Linked DNA regions of Homo sapiens: region 2 is linked to region 1. Evidence: promoter capture Hi-C in 16 types of primary human blood cells and fetal thymus (Javierre and others, 2016). All regions are on one chromosome and are shown on one strand. The core of a region is centred on a gene start or on the middle of the fragment in contact, and the rest is flanking DNA. Distances in the headings are between cores, read along the strand shown.

Region 1 (3,865 bases), core at 1,107-3,606:
CATGAGCATATTCTGGATAATGCGGATGACAATCATTATAAGCCAGTACTACTGTGTGATTTCAGTGCTCCCATCTGGATTTATAACTACTACATAATTTTATAACTAAGTCCTAATTTTATTGCATTAAGCAGGTAGATTTAATACATAAATGTTAGGTTTTGCCATGTGAAGGTCAAATGACCATCTGTACAAATAAAGGTTCTACAGTAATTTCATAGAAAAAGTGGTAAATAACTATAAGGCAACATTAGTAGAGGCATTCCAAACTCCCATCAGTGCCATATACATATTGTGAGGAGCATTAGTTTCACATCATCCCTAGCATTACCTGATGTAGATTTAAATTTTACCGAATGTGTAATTTCATTTAGTTTTATAATTTATAAATGTATTTTTATTTGTTTGTTTGTTTTTTGAGACAGAATCTCACTCTGTTGCCCAAACTGAAGTGCAGTGGCAGGATCTCGGCTCACTGCAACCTCTGCCTCCCAGGTTCAACTGATCCTCTTGCCTCAGCCTCCTGAGTAGCTGGGATTACAGGCACCTGCCACCAAGCCCAGCTAATCTTGTATTTTTAGTAGAGGCAGGGTTTCATCATGTTGGCCAGGCAGGTCTCGAACCCCTGACCTCAGGTGATCCATCTGCCTCGGCTTTCCAAAGTGCTGGGATTTCAGGCATGAGCCACCACGCGCCCAGCCCATATATTGTTTTATAGTCAAACAATGGCTTCAGGTCAGGTGTGGTGGCTCATGCCTATAATCCCAGCACTTTGGGAGGCCGAGGTGGAAGGATTGCTTGAGGCCAGGAGTTCGAGACCAGCCCAGGCAACACAGTGAAATCCCGTCTCTACGAAAATTTTAAAAATTAGCCAGGTGGGCCAGGGGCGGTAGCTCACGCCTTTAATCCCAGCACTTTGGGAGGCTGAGGTGGGTGGATCACCTGAGGTCAGAAGTTCGAAACCAGCCTGGCCAACATGATGGGGTTTCACCCCATCTCTACTAAAAATACAAAAATTAGCCGGGTGTGGTTGCGCACGCCTGTAATCCCAGCTACTCGGGAGGCTGCAGCAGGAGAACTGCTTGAACCCAGGGGGCGGAGGCTGCAGTGAGCCAAGATCGTGCCACTGCACTCCAGCCTGGGCAACAGAGCGAGACTCCGTCTCAAAAAAAAAAAAAAAAAAAAAGAAAAGAAAAGAAAAAATTAGCCAGGTGTGGTGGTGAATGCCTGTAGTCCCAGCTACTAGGGAGGCTGAGGTGGGAGGACTGCTTGAGCCTGGGAGGTGGAGGCTGCTGTGAGCCGTGGTTGTGCACATCCCTCCTGGGCAACAGAACAAGACCCTGTCTCAAAAATAAATAAATGAGCTTCATAACTAGTATTATGTTGATATATATTTGAATAACATAATAATTTGGGTAAACCAAGGGTCTCATATTAGTCAAGTTTGAGAAAAACTTGCAAAACGTCTAATTAATACCTTCAACTCCTGCTGGTTTTACGAAGAAAAACATTCACCGAATACTTACTACGTGTGCAAGGACTGTGCTAGCTGCTGTAATTCATGAAGCTTGCAACTGTAATATTAGATACTTTATAAGTTACACAGAATCAGTGGGCGATCATTCACCAAGACTTCCTCTTCCTGCCTTTAGTATGTTAACATTGTTTCTGACATGTGTTTCTAAATAACTACTTGGGGGCAGAAGTCACAGCTATTTTTCCTCCGACACAATATTTGACTTCCTTCTGACACTGGGGCTTCAAGTTAGGGCTGGAGTGGACAGAGCAATTTCACAACACAGAAAACAGAATAAAGAGTCCATCACCTGAGTCTCTCAGTCGAGCAAGTTCCTGCCGACGTTTCTTTCGTTTCTCCTTCTTCAGGGCGGCCCTGTACTTTTTGTGGCTGGAAGATTAAGACATATACACGACGATCAGCGGCTACAATGCAGCGCTGCCCGAGCTCCCCGCTCCTCTGTGCCCAATGAAAGGAAATAGTTCGGGTGCTGAGGAGAGAAACCTTGCTTCCTGTATTTTAATTACAGAACAGCCATCTATCATCGCCTCATCCTCCCACTCCCAGACAGTTCTTCTCCATCCGCCAACCTGATCCTCTCCTCGCTTGCCTGAGCCACAGCCGCCCGTGCAAGTCCGGGGAGGGCACCAGAGCGCGCACCAGGAAGGAATGGAGCTGCCGCGGTGGCTCACTTAGCTTGGCCCAGCTTCTCTTTTCTTCCTGCCACCACATCCTCCATGCCCACGATCGGCCCGCTCGCCTGCTCATCTCCCCGTACGGCGCTTACCTTGGTTTCTCGGGAAACGTCATCTTCTCGGGCGCAGCCATCTTGCCGGCACCGCCCCGCCCCTCCAGGTCTGGCAGGAAAGGGCGGGCCTAAGAGTCGAGACGGGCACGCGCAGGCGCGGGTACCGAGCAACCTCCACCAGCGTGGGACTTGAAACGGAAAGCCGGAGGTACCCTTCGGCGGCTCGTCTTCCAGAACCCTGCTCAAATAAATACCTCCTTCCAGCAAAAATACTCTGGGGCTTTTACCCCGCCCTAGAAGTAATTGTCGCTTCAGCACTTGCCCAGTGCTGTATCACTGTCTCCCTCCTCGCCCTAGCAGGACGTGTTGTGGCTAGGCGGTTAAAGTCGTACTCTGCCGCTTTTCTCAGCATCCACTCATGAAGTCACATCGCGCACAGAGCTGCTCGCCCGGCTTTATTTCCGACCTGTCCAGGTTCCGCGTCCTTCCGCCGATCCACCTATCAGCGCCTCAGACAAAGCTCCAGACTTCGCTCCCTGCCAGTCACACCTGTTCTGGTCCCTTAAGCAAACCTAACTCCCAGGGCTGCAAAGCTGTTACCTCTGCCCCTGAGGAGTTTACAATCGAGGGGGCAGAGAAGAACCAATACATAATATGATGCAGGCAAAGATGAAGTTTACCTAACATAGTCCACCAAGGGATTCAGGGAGAGCTCTCTTTTTTTTCCTTTTTTCTTTTTTTTTCAGTATCACATGCGACTCAACTGCAGTATCAGGGACAGCTTTCTGATGCTAAGAGTTGAGTTTGGAAAGAAGATGCCCTTTACCCAGAAGGAGAAGGGTGGGAATGCAGTTACAGTCAGATCAGCATAAGCAAAGGCGCTGAAAGGTGAAAGTGGAATATGCTGGGAACAGCAAGAATTTTGGCAATCGAATTTATTTATTTATTCATTTCTTATATATTAGAGACAGGGTCTTGTCTTTCACCCAGGTTGGAGTGCAGTGGCGCAATCACGACTCGCTGCAGCTTCGACCTCCTGGGGTCAAGCAATCCTTCCACCTCAGCCTCCCGAGTAGCTGGGAATACAGGCGCGAGCCACCACGCCCGCCCAGCTATCCAATTTAAAGTGCAGTTCGAGGCTGGGTGCAGCGGCTCACGCCTGTAATCCCAGCACTTTGGGAGGCCTAGGCGGGTGGATCACCTGAGGTCAGGAGTTCGTCAGCCTGGCCAACATGGTGAAACCCCGTCTCTACTAAAAATACAAAATTAGCCGGGTGTGGTGGCACATGCCTGTAGTCCCAGCTACTCTGGAGGCTGAAACAGGAGAACTGCTTGAACCCAGGAGGTGGCGGCCGCAGTGAGCCGAGATGGCACCACTGCCCTCCAGCCTGGGCAACAGAGCAAGGCTCCGTCTCAAAAAAACAAAACAAAATAAAGTGCAATTCGAGAATATCAAGGAATATAGTTGTTGTGATGGGCTGGGAGGGCTAGGTTAAGGAGGGCCTGGTGTGCCATGTTAAGACGCTCTGTTTACATTCTGTAGAGACAACAGTGAACCGTTGAAAGCTTTTTAAATAGAGGCTTATTGTGGTTGTGTTTGT
Region 2 (3,848 bases), core at 416-2,915, 880 kb before region 1:
AGCTTTACTATCTGAAAGAGGCTAGAATCTTTACTATGTGACCCTTTACAGAAAACGTTTCTCATCCTAGGAGAACTTGCTGCTATTCCAGCTGGGTAGCAGAGGCTGGGAGAAGGCTCCATCTGCAACTGTGCTTACCTTCTCCAATTCCCACCTCAGTCTCCAGAGTAGCTGGGACTACAGGTACACACCACTGTGCCTGGCTAATTTTTGTGTGTGTGTGTGTTTTTTTTTTTTTAAGAGATGGAGTCTTGCTATGTTGCCCAGCCTGGCCTCAAACTCCTGGGCTCAAGCAATCTGCCCACTTCAGACTCCCAAAGTGTGGGGATTACAGGCTTGAGCCCCCGTGCCCGGCCGAGTTGAGCCTTTTTAATGCTTTTTTTTCAAATTGCGAAGTACGGCTTCTGTACCAGGGAAACCAGAGGAAATGGGACCTTGATGCGGGAGAGGCAGCCCTGTAGCTGGGGACTCAGGCAGGAGGGGGAGTGCAGAGAGGCTGTGTTTCCCACTGTGCAGTGGATGGCTGGGTGGGTTTATGAGCCCATTGGACAGGCTTTTAGTGCCAGCAGACCATTTATTTCCCCCCATTACCTGCTCTTTGATTAGCTTCTTAGACTCTCTCCTCTTAGGATCCATTTTCAAAATAGAAGACTGGAGTAGTTACCTGGATACCTTGTTTTCTTTTACTGGTCTAAGCTCGTTGGGGGCCATTGTTTTTTTTTTTGAAGTTTCTGTCTAAATGTGGGTAATGTTCCTCAGATTATTTTAATAGTATGGAATGGTTTGCAGGTCTTTAGCTTTCCCTCTAGCATAGCATCTCTTTATGTCCCAGCCATATGGAACTTTCTGAAATCCCCCTCACCGCCACCCCCACCCCCCAGCACTCAGCTGTTTCCTGCTTATTGACTTCTGTTCTGGCATCCCTGATATATTGATTGCTCCCTTCTTTGTTTCCCCTGTGTACATCTTAAGTATCTATCGGAGGAGCATCTGGGATGCTCTTTGGCATTTGTTTAGTGGAGAGAATTGGTGAACTGCAGTGAAGGCGGAGCTGGGTCTGGGAGCATCCCTGTGGCAACAGGCTTGGGCGACACAGGTCTGCCTTCCTTCATCACCGAGCACTCTGTTCAGGCCCATCGTGTCTCCTTCCCTGCTGCCCACCATGCTCAAGCCCACTGTGGAGTCTCCAACCCCCACCCCCCACTGCTGCTTTTCCTTACAGTGAAGGCTATGGGGCTGCCTGTGGGTTAGCAGCCTGACGTCCTGTAGGCACTCAACCTCTGGCCAAGCCTGTGTTTATGGCTGTGAAGTCACCATGAGAAGGAGTGGGAAATCTTAGCCCAGGAAACTCCCTCTGAGTTGGGGTGTTAGATGTTCTCTGAAGGAATCAGGCACTGCAGCCCACTAAGATGCCTCAACTCAGGGACAAATCTAGAAGGTGGCAGATTTGTCTCATGGACTCTGCCTCTTTCTTTCCTTCTTTCCTTCCTTCCTTCCTTCCTTCCTTCCTTCCTTCCTTCCTTCCTTTCCTTCCTTCCTTCCTTCTTTCTTTCTTTCTCTCTTTCTCCCTTCCCTCCCTTCCCTCCCCTTCCTTTTCCTTCTCCTTCCTTCCTTCTTTCTTCCTTCTTCCTTCCTTCCTTCCTTCCATCCTTCCTTCTTCCCTTCTTCCTTCCTTCCCTCCTTCCTCTCTCTCTTTTTATTTTCTTTTTTTTTGAGACAGAGTCTCGCTCTGTCGCCCAGGCTGGAGTGCAGTGGCGCGATCTCTGCTCACTGTAAGCTCTGCCTCCCAGGTTCACGCCACTCCCCTGCCTCAGCCTCCCGAGTAGCTGGGACTACAGGCACCCACCACCATGCCTGGCTAATTTTTTTTTGTATTTTTTTTTTTTTAGTAGAGATGGGGTTTCACCATGTTAGCCAGGATGGTCTCGATCTCCTGACCTCGTGATCCGCCCAACTCAGCCTCCCAAAGCGCTGGGATTACAAGTGTGAGCCACCGCACCCAGCTCCTCCTTCCTCTCTTTCTCTCTTTCTTCTCTTTCTTTCCTTCCTTCTTTCTCACCCAGCCTGGAGCACAGTGGTGTGATCTCAGCTCACTGCAACCTCTGCCTCCCGGGCTCAAGTAATTCTCCTGCCTCAGCCTCCCAAGTAGCTGGGACTATAGGTGCATGCCACCACACCTGGCTAATTTTTGTATTTTTAGTAGAGGCTGGTTTCACCATGTTGGCCAGGCTGGTCTCGAACTCCTGACCTCAAGTAATCTGCTCACTTTGGCTTTCCAAAGTGCTGAGATTGCAGGCTTGAGCCATTGCGCCCAGTTGACCCTGCACTTTTCTGACCTCATGTTCCTTCTTTGTCAACTTTGGGACTTAGGCGGCTTCATGATAGTCTAAGCCCCTGCCCTGCTCTCTGTCAGGGATTCTTCTGAGAGGACAGCAGGGAGCAAAACAGGCAGAGTCTTGCTCTCTGGGAGTCTGCATTCTAGATAGGGGAGACAGGCAGCCAACAAATGAACAGAAAATGTGAACAAATACAAAGTGAGTTCATTTGCTTTGCATATGTGCTTTTTAAAATAGGAGTTTGTCTTGGGATGCAACTAGCAGTGATAGAGTTTGCAAGAAACTGCCTTAACTTGAAAGGTAAGTTCGAGGTTTGCTAATGACCATTTATTTAAAAAATTTTCTCTCTTCAAATATTTTTCAGCACTATTGGTGAATTACTGAACTCTTTTCTTAATCTTCAGATGCTGATTCCACAGAGTTTAGGCCAAATGCCCCAGTTCCTCTGGTAAGTGGCTTGTTTATCTTTCTGGGTCCAGTCATTGTCACTTGGGTCCTGGCTCTTGCCTAAATTCATAAGGGGCTATTGGCTGGGCGCCATGGCTCACCCCTGTAATCCCAGCACTTTGGGAGGTCAAGGCGGGCGGATCACTTGAGGTTAGGAGTTCAAGAGTAGCCTGGTCAACATGGTGAAACCCCTGTCTCTACTAAAAATACAAAAATTAGCTGGCTGTGGTGGCAGATGCGTGTAATATCAGCTACTCGGGAGGCTGAGGCAGGAGAATTGCTGGAACCCGGGAGGTGGAGGTTGCAGTGAGCCAAGATCATGCCACCGCACTCCAGCCTCAGTGACAGAGTGAGACTCCTTCTCAAAAAAAAAAAAAGGCGGGGGGGGGTCTATTATTATTTTTTCTTTACAGCACCAGAACATTTTAAATTACATTATTCTTATATTAAATTCCTTTGTTCTTGATAGTCCATCTTCTCAGCTATGCCTTAAAGACAGTCACAATCCTGGACTGATTTCTCTTTGTCGCAGCTTTCAAGCTTAATGTTTAGGAAAGGATTAAATCGGCTGTGACAACAATTTATAACATCTACTATAAATAAATGAGCTGTCCTGTCTCCAGACTCATCACCAGTCTGCCTATTTTCCACACTGGTGGTCATCTGTCTTTCTAAAACAAAAGCGACAGTGATTCTGCTGCCAGTCCTCATCTTCCATCAGTTTCTTTTCCCTTAAAATATTCAGTCCAGGATTCTGGGCTGGGTCCCAAAGCCACTGTGCTCTGTCACCTGCTGCTTTGCTGATTCATCCCATGGCATCCTGATTCCTCCCAGGCTTTGAGTTTTTTTCTTTTTTGTGTTTTTTTGAGGCAAGTTCTCACTCTGTCACACAGGCTGGAATGCAGTGGCATGATCACGGCTCACGGAAGCCTAGACCTCCCGGGGTCAAACAATCTTCCCACCTCATTTTTTGATTTTTTTTGTAGAGACAAGGTCTCACTATGTTGCCCAGGCTACATGCTTTGAGTTTTACGTTTGGACAATCTAAACTAGTTTTTCAGATAC

What was found. The method cuts DNA at HindIII sites, captures the fragments that hold promoters and counts their contacts. A CHiCAGO score of 5 or more calls a contact.
Region 2: a fragment that was not itself captured here is called in contact with the fragment with the promoter of ZRSR2 in region 1 in 5 of 17 cell types (non-activated CD4 T cells, total CD4 T cells, naive CD4 T cells and 2 more); the score reaches 9.3 in non-activated CD4 T cells.

The regions. Positions count from the first base shown.
Region 1 is chrX:15,788,975-15,792,839 of GRCh38, reverse strand. It overlaps ZRSR2 (zinc finger CCCH-type, RNA binding motif and serine/arginine rich 2), which reads right to left and starts at 2,356. Exons shown (of 11, transcript NM_005089.4): 1 at 2,304-2,356; 2 at 1,827-1,906. The coding sequence starts at 2,344. RefSeq lists enhancers at 869-1,370, 2,029-2,478. The HindIII fragment of the contact is 2,263 bases long and covers 1,570-3,832 here.
Region 2 is chrX:16,666,450-16,670,297 of GRCh38, reverse strand. It overlaps CTPS2 (CTP synthase 2), which reads left to right. Exons shown (of 19, transcript NM_175859.3): 12 at 2,574-2,636; 13 at 2,741-2,784. Among named protein-coding and RNA genes, the nearest start is that of S100G, 18 kb to the right of the region's middle. The HindIII fragment of the contact is 3,321 bases long and covers 5-3,325 here.